Regions from separate parts of the Homo sapiens genome. Here all the other regions are linked to region 2. Evidence: promoter capture Hi-C in 16 types of primary human blood cells and fetal thymus (Javierre and others, 2016). All regions are on one chromosome and are shown on one strand. The core of a region is centred on a gene start or on the middle of the fragment in contact, and the rest is flanking DNA. Distances in the headings are between cores, read along the strand shown. Region 1 has its middle 48 kb from the start of TAS1R2. Region 2 holds the start of PAX7 (paired box 7). Region 3 has its middle 23 kb from the start of TAS1R2.

What was found. Contacts are between HindIII fragments. The CHiCAGO score rates a contact against its expected background, and 5 or more counts as called.
Region 1: a contact is called between a fragment that was not itself captured here and the fragment with the promoter of PAX7 in region 2, in 1 of 17 cell types (naive CD4 T cells). The highest score is 5.3, in naive CD4 T cells.
Region 3: a fragment that was not itself captured here is called in contact with the fragment with the promoter of PAX7 in region 2 in 1 of 17 cell types (endothelial precursors); the score reaches 7.2 in endothelial precursors.

What each region holds. Positions count from the first base shown.
Region 1 is chr1:18,810,664-18,813,363 of GRCh38, reverse strand. No RefSeq gene overlaps it. Among named protein-coding and RNA genes, the nearest start is that of TAS1R2, 48 kb to the left of the region's middle. The HindIII fragment of the contact is 1,258 bases long and covers 627-1,884 here.
Region 2 is chr1:18,629,483-18,632,182 of GRCh38, reverse strand. It overlaps PAX7 (paired box 7), which reads right to left and starts at 1,337. Exons shown (of 9, transcript NM_001135254.2): 1 at 495-1,337. The coding sequence starts at 579. RefSeq lists enhancers at 1-6, 1-14 and promoters at 554-830, 554-1,464, 868-1,653. The HindIII fragment of the contact is 4,552 bases long and covers 1-2,700 here.
Region 3 is chr1:18,834,856-18,837,555 of GRCh38, reverse strand. No RefSeq gene overlaps it. Among named protein-coding and RNA genes, the nearest start is that of TAS1R2, 23 kb to the left of the region's middle. The HindIII fragment of the contact is 1,055 bases long and covers 786-1,840 here.

The DNA of each region.
Region 1 (2,700 bases), core at 6-2,505, 180 kb before region 2:
GAAACTGGCTGCTTTCTTGTCTGTTTTGAGACAGAGTCTCTTTCCATCACCCAGACTGGAGTGCAGTGGCGCTATCATGGCTCATTGCAGCCTTGACCTCCTGGGCTCAAGCAATCCTCCACCTCAGCTTCCTAAGTAACTGGTACCACTGGCGTGGGCCATCATGATTGGCTGATTTTTGTATTTTTTGTAGAGACAGGGTTTCACCATATTGCCCAGGCTGGTCTTGAACTCCTGGGCTCAAGGGATCCTCCCACTTCGGCCTCCCAAAGTGCTGGGATTACAGGTGTGAGCCACCGCGCCCGGCCTGGCTGCAATCTTTTCTTGCTCGGATACCTACGGCCTCTTTGCTTGTTTCTGCCTCCATCCTTGCTCCCGCCCCAACCCAGGCAATTCATTCTTCCCAAAGCAGCCAGGGACACTTCCACTAGTGGGAATCAGATCGTGTCACTCACCTCCAATTTTAGAAGAAACTGTAGGCTTTTCAGTCAGCCCATAGGCCCCCACGCAGCCCTGTCTCCCTCTGCTCTGATCTCATCTCCCACAACTCTCGTCATTATTCTTGTCACCCTCTTGTTGTGTCAGACACAAATGCCCTCCTTCCTTTTTCTTGAACCCGCCAAGCTTGTTCCCACCCCAGGGCCTTTGCATGTGCTCTTTCTTCTGCTTGGATTGTTCTTCCCCACATTTATGCACTGCTGTCTCCCTGTCGATTCAGCCTGGCCTTTGCTGACATTGATCTCCAATTACATCACTGGGCTGGACTGTCTTCATAGTGCTTAGCAACATCTGAAATCATCTCACTTGCTTCTTTGCTTTTGAGTTTATGATCCGTCTCCCTGACCTAAAATATAAACATTCTGAGAGCGAAGACTTCATCTGTTCTGTTTACTCCTGTAACCCCTGTTCCTAGTACAACGTCAGCACATCATAGGTGCTCAATAAGCTAGTGATTGACTGACTGACTACATGACCAAGATCGCCTTGAGTTCAAAGGTGACATTTCCTCTCTAGCCACCTGCCTGTCTGCCTGACACTCCCAGGCTGGGACCCCACCCCTGCTGTTGTCAGTGAGCCAAGGACACTTTGGGCCTAATCCCTGAAACACTGAGACTCATGTTTCTTCCTGCAATACTCAAAGCATGAACTTCTTGCTACGTGCCATGTGGCCTACTAGGCCCAGGGCAAAAAAAAGTGCACAAAAATAAGATTCTGCCTTCAGGGTGCTTAAAGTGCAGAGCATAAGAGAAGAGACATTGACAATGGTCTAATGCAAGCCAGGCAGCACCTACTATGTGGGAGGTGCTTTGCAAACATCATCCCATCGAGTCCTCATTGAATTAATAGCAGTTGGAGAGAGGATGAGATGAATTATCAAAAAAACCCATTTTACAGATGGGGAAGTTGAGGAATGCAAGGACAGTGCATCGCCTAAGGGTAACCCAGCTGGCACATGGCAGAGCTGGATTCATATCCAGGTCTGTCTGGCTCCAAAATCTATGCCTAAGAGAAAGCAGGAGGTCACATGTGATTGGGATGGGGGAGGACACAATTGAGGGCCAGGGGAAATGGAGTGAGGAGAGAATTTCCGACAGGGGGTCTGGTGTGAGCTGGGGAAGGCGGTAGGAAAGAGCAACTGGCTGTGGAATCGGGGAGTGGCTTAGTTTTCCTGGGGACATGGGATGACAGGAGGAGAAGGGAGAAAGATGAAGGAGGAAGGTGAGCTGGATTAGACCATGGTGTGCCCACAAAGCCAGACCCTTGGCGTTTGTCTCACTATCATGGTGACAGTGTGGGTAATAAAGGGAAACTGGGGTTCAATCTGGACCCTAGGACATTTCCCAGGAAGTCAGTCCAGAGGGAGAGAGACTCGGGGAGGAAGCTTCTCTAAGCTCAGCTCCATGCCAATTGTCGAGGAGGAAAGGAGAGGTCAACTAGAAAACCATGTGAACTGGAGAGAATTTGAGACTTCAGTTTGCAGGGCTGTGAGGCAGTAACCCCATTGCCTTGAACGAGAAGCAGTAGGAGCTCCGAGTTTTTGGAGTCACTGGACTTGGGTTTGAGTTCCACTTCTGCCATTTCCAGGCTGTGAAGATGATCTTTGTGTGCCAGCTCACTCTCTGCGTCTGGTTTCTTTGTTGATGGAATAGGAATTCCCATTGTTATAAGGACTAAAGGACTTGATATATGTGACATACCCAGAATAATGTGCGACACAGGGTTTTTGCTCAGGCAGGGACGATGGGGAACTCTGTAGCCTGAACGTTTATTTTAAGAGAGGCTAGAAATGCGAATTTTAATGCAAATTTCCCACAGCTATGGTGCAAGAACCCTCACTCTTCAAATAAAATGGCCGTGGGCCCAGAGCTGGCCAGTGTGGACCCTTGTCTACAGAACACCTGGCTGAAGAGATTTGGGACTTTCTGAGGTTGCGGCAGGGGGAGATAGATCAGTCCAGGGTATTTGAGGCAGTGCATTGGTAGCTGACAAGTTAATGAGGAAGAAAAGCTCTGTTGACCTGGTCAAGGTCACAGTCAGGGCAAATCACTGGCATTAGACTGGGATGCAGGAAGCAGCAAGGTCTGGGAGCAAGGAAGCCAGAGATCTGGCCTTGGCTCTGGACAAGCCTGCTCTGTGACCGTGGGCCAGCCCCTCTCCATCTCTGAGCCTCTGTGACATGAGTGAATAAATTCTCTCAAC
Region 2 (2,700 bases), core at 88-2,587:
AATGGATAGCCGTGGTAGTTGAGGCATATAAAGTATCACCCATGGTAGGTGGTTCGAAATAAAGGACTGGAAGACCAATCCCGGGGGTGGAAAAAATAATTCAAAACAAGAGTAGAAAGCTGGCAGCCAGCGAGCCAGGAGAGCCGAGAAACTGTCAGGGAAGAAGTGTCTGGAAATAGTGGAAAGAGCTGAAATTCACCAGGACCTGATATTTACTAGGAGTCCAAATCTACCAGAATTTCAGCCCTGCGGGTAAAGACCGGCAGCTAGCGACCTGCGAAACGAAGGCCGCCGGGCAGTGAAACCCACGCAGAAGCGGACAAGTATGGGTCCCAGAAACTCCCTGGGTTCCGCGCCCGGACTGGGACCCAGAAGAGAACGGGATCCCTCTGCTATCGCCGGCGCCGCCACCGTCCCCTGGAGACCGCAGCCTCTCCAAGGACCCCGAGTTCCGGGCGGCGGAGTCGCGGCGAGGCCAGCCTGGGCGTTCTTACCTTCCAAAGGGAATCCCGTGCGGGGGTAGTTCTGCCCCGGAGCCGGCCGCATCATTCTCGGTACCGTGCCGGGAAGGGCCGCCATTCTTGCGCACGCCGGGGACGAATCCAAAGTCGGCAAAAATCGCTTCCCGTCCGCTCCCTTCACCCCTGCTGCGATCTCTTTCTTTCCGTCTTCTTCGTCTTCTTTTTTTTAACCTCTTCTCCCTCCCCTCCACACACACTCCCTACCCCCACCCCCCACCCCTGGCTGCAGTCAAACGCGTCCAGAAGCTGGGGAGGGGGGTGAGGTGGGGTGGAGGTTGGGGGGAGGGAAGGTGGCGACGACGAGGAAGTTCAAACAAACAAACACTCCAACCCCAAGTCCGCCTCTGCCGGCTGGCCTCGGCCAGAAGTTGTGCGGGCTGATGCGCCTGGCAGAACCCGGAGACCAGGCCCCGCGGCGGAGGGGGGCCGGGGGAACGCGGCCGGAATCGAGGCCGCCAGCCTCAGAGTGGCGAGCGCCGCGCTCTCGCGCTCTGGCGCTCTGGCGCTCGGGGCCAAAGTTTCCGAGCCCGGAGACTGCGGAGTGGATTTCGTTCTCGTATTTATTTATATATTTATTCTCTCGCTCTCGCTCCCTCCCTCTTCTCCACGCCTTCTTTCTCCGGACCACACTCGCTTCTCCCTCCACACCAGCTTTCACAGCCCCGTCCCCTAGGAGACCCGGGGACAGACGGAAGAAGGAGCCTCCTCGGGTTTCAGGGCTGGACGGAGGAGACAGGGGGTGACGGGGTTGGGGAAAGAGAAATGGAAAAGCGAGGGGGCGCGAGTGATCAGCTGGGTAAGTTGTGCAAAAGTGTTCACCGAAGTACGAGGAGGAGGAGGAGGAGGAGGAGGAGGAGGCAGTGAGCGCGATCTGATAGGTTCGGACTTTTCTTTTATTCATGAGGAGGGAAGGGGGCCAGGGCGCAAGGGAGCGGAGGACCAATAACGAAAAGAAATCGCCAACGAATATTTTTTTCCCTCTTTTCTAATCCCCGGCTCGACCTCGTTTTGGGGGAGAATTTGAACCGCCGTGAAAAGAGAGGGAGCCGATCCCGGCGAGTTGGGGGCTGGGGGAGAAGGGGAGGGGGCCAACTTTGTCCCAGTGCCTTCCTTTGATGAATGGGCCGGATCCGCCGAGTCCCCGGCCCCCAGGTCGCCCACGGCTGCTCTCGGAGTCCCGGCTGTATGGGAATGTCTGCCTCGGGTCCGGCGCCTCTCTGGAGTCTCGCCTTTTCTCTGGCCTCCGAGGGCCAGAGTCCGCCCTATTTCTCATCTTCTCCCTCGTCTTACACCCTCTGAAATTCCTCCAGTGAGGCTCCCCGGGAACCGGCCTAGGGTGACTTGAAGGGAGGAATTCTGACCTTTTCTGTGTAATGTCAGAGCCCCGGTGTCCGGTTCTTACTCTACCTTCCTGCCGCTCTGAGAAGCCCCCAGTAACCGTATCTGGTTCCGAGGCTTGGCAAAGTGGGTCTGCCAAGTGCTAGGCACAGGTTTCTTCCTCCCCTTCCAGTTCCGCCCCGTGCAGACGTCTCCAGCCGCCGCCGTCCTCCTCAGGCCCCCAGGCCGGGCCTATAACTCCTTTCCAGCAGGTAGTTGGGTTTACAGGGAGTTGGTGCTGGTGTGAGGATCTGGGGGCCCAAAGAGGTGGGAAATGGGAGGGAGGGAGCCCGTCAAGACTTGATACAGCTCTGAACTCACCAACTCTGAGCTCCTTGCTGGTGGGTTTGAGGGGACGCCCCAACTGAATGATCAGGAGTCAGGGTGGGGTGATCAGAGGTTCCTGAATTCTTCGCTTTCTGAAGCCAGGGTGACCAGTAGCCTCAACCTCGGGACACCGAGTCCTGGGGGCGAAACGCCCTCCCAGCGGGGCAGGACGCCACAACTGCAGGCCTTTTGTCTCCCGGGGGAAAGAGCGTCTCTGGCCCCACGCTGGAGGCAAAATACAATAAAATGAACCCAGCCCTCAATCTCACCCCCTGCCCGCCCTCTCTCGGCAGTGGGGTCAGCCTTGTCTTAGCCTGGGGCGCTCACCGCTGGCTGGCCCCAGGGTGTCCCCATCCCTCCCCTTCGCCTCACCTGTGACCTTTGCCCCTTGCAGCATGTGACAGATCTCCCTCCTCTCCCCACTCTCCTAGCACAAGGGGCTCATCAGATTTTGGGGGGGCCTTCTGGGAATGGG
Region 3 (2,700 bases), core at 64-2,563, 210 kb before region 2:
ACAACTGTAGTTGTCAAAAAATTCTTAGATTCAATCAAAACCCTACTCCCTGGGATTTCAGTTTATGGACACTAGTTTTATCCTTTGGGACCATGAATTAAATCTAATTCCTAGCCTAAGCATGGTAGCTCACACCTGTAATCTCAGCACTTTGGGAGGCCAACGTGGGAAGATTGCTTGAGGCCAGGAGTTTGAGATCAACCTGGGCAATGTAGCAAGACCCCATCTCTACAGAAGTAAAAATTAGCTGGGCATGGTGGTGCACGCTTGTAGTCCCAGCTACTCAAGAAGCTGAGGCAGGAGGATCTGTTGAGTGCAGGAGTTCAAGGCTACAGTGAGCAGTGATTGTGCCACTGCATTGCAGCCTGGGCGACAGAGCAAGATCTTGTCTCACCCTTCCCCACAAAATCGAATTCCTCTTTCTCATGATGCCTTTTATATACAATAACAAAAAGAATTGCCTTTCAAGGAGCACCTGCTGTGTGCCAGGTACTTTTCACACATCATCTCCAGTCCCCAGAATGACCATGCCCCATGGGTACCAGTGACGTTGGTGGACACAGGCTGATGCCTCCCACACCCCTTCCCTCCGCCCTACCTGGCAGCCCCTATATGGTTCCAGGGAAGATGAGGCCATCTCCTGGCTCCAGGGGCTGCAGCAAGTGACCTAGGCCAAGCCAATCGGCACTGTTCTTCCCAGTCTGCAGTGATTGGCTCAGAGGTGGGCACATGACCTTGGTTGGTCCAATCAGAGAGACTCTCAGAACTTTTGCTGGAACCAAGCTTCTTTGTATAATAACTTGAAAGGCCCTAGAGCAAAGAGCTGGGGGCAGTTCTTGTGGGATCACGAGGCGAGTCAGCCTCAGGGGAAAGCTGAACCTTATAGAAGGCAAAGAGGAAGGATAGAAAAACTCAGCCCTTAAAACTCTTTGTGAGCTATTGGATCTCACCTGACGGCAGCCCTGCCTCTGAAAACTTCCATTTCATGAGTCGGTTAATATCCCTTATTGCTTAAGTTAACTTGAGTTGGATTTTCTGTCCTCTGCAACCCAAAGCATCCCTGTACTACTGTAAAGGAAACTGAAGCTCAGAGACGCTGATTAACTTGCCCAGGGTCACCCAGCTCTTAAGTGAGCGAGCTAGGATTTGGGCTCAAAGGGGGGATTTGGGAGGGGTTACAGCAATTGTGTTCTCCTCACGTCATCTCTTCTTTGGTCTGAAGGTCCCAGGTGCTCTTAGGACATGATTTTGGCCACCATCCCGGTCCTTTCCTTTGGACACTCTGATTTGCAAGCCCCTCTCTTCGACCACTTTTCGAGCTTTCCTTTCTTTGGTTCCTGTCATCCTTCCCAAATCCACAGTCTCTGGCCGCCTGAGTCATGTCCCCTAAACCTGACACAGTCAGGAGCCCTCCTGCCTCAGGAACCTCCTGTGGCTCCCCAGTGCCTGGGCAGTAAGTCCTCATTAACGTTGTTGCTACATTCTTGGAAACTCTGACTTTAGATAAAAGGACAAGGCATATAATGAAACCAATATTTTGTTCTCATCCGTATTATAATATGTTATAATGAAACAACGTTATTTGAGGACCCGCTGTACGTCCTTTTGCTTAAAGTCGCAGTTTCCAAAAACCTATCCACTACAGCATTAAGTGAGGACTTCCTGGACAGTCATGCCTGACCTCCTTTGTGTGTGGAAAGCCTCACAAAATCTGAATCCTGCTCATCTTCCCAGCCTCATCTCCCAGTGGCCCCACTGGACTCCTGGCTGTCCCCAAACATGGTTCCTGATTTCACACCTTTGCTCAAGATGTTCCTTCTTGATCTTCCTATGGGAAGCTTGTATTTATCCTTCAGGGCCCGGGTCAAATGCCTCCTCCCCCGGGAAGCCTTTCCTGCCTTGTGGCAGAGGGGATTCTCTGCTCCCATAGCCTCTTGAGCTTCATACCGTTGGTCCTAACGCTTGGGACCTGGCTGCTGTCTTTCTGGTCTGGGACTTCCTGCAGGAGAGGTTCAGCTCTGTTCTCTGTGCAGCTCTTTTCTCACCTGTTGTGGTCACCTACGGCCCATTGCTGCTTGAAGCCTTGAGCACTTGTTGGCTGGGCAGGGCAATCCCTGGAGCCATTTGCAGGGCTGGCACTGGACCTGGTGGGAGTGTCCTTTGTGGGGAGTTGGCTGCAATCGGGCGACCTGGCTCCAGACCAGGTGAAATGGGCCAGAATTTCCTCCAGTGGCTGGGGCTGCAGAGGGGGAAGGAAAGGGTGACAAGGGGAAGGCAGAGGCTGGAGCTGAGCCTCATAGGTAAGGAGGAAGGTGTGGTCGGGTCTCACAGGTGGCATCTCCATCACTCAGACCAGAAACCTGAGTCATCCTTGACTCTGTTTTTCTCCCATCCCGCACCTTATGGTAAGGACCCCCTCTTGGCCAAGGGGACCAGAGAAACCTTAAAAACAGAGTCCTAGGTCATGAAGAGAAGGGAAGTCAGATATGCCTTGTTATGTCCCTTCCATTTTGGGGTTTAGGCACAACTAACCAGCATTCATGGTAAAATCGAGATCATAAGACAGACATAATAGGCTCTTTGTGGCAATAAGATACCAAGTTATAAGCAAGACCGAAAGCCATGGCAAGGAAGGGTTAAGTCAACCTGCAGGCCATTGATCTTGCTAAACAGGCCATAGCGTGACTGACTCTGATACAG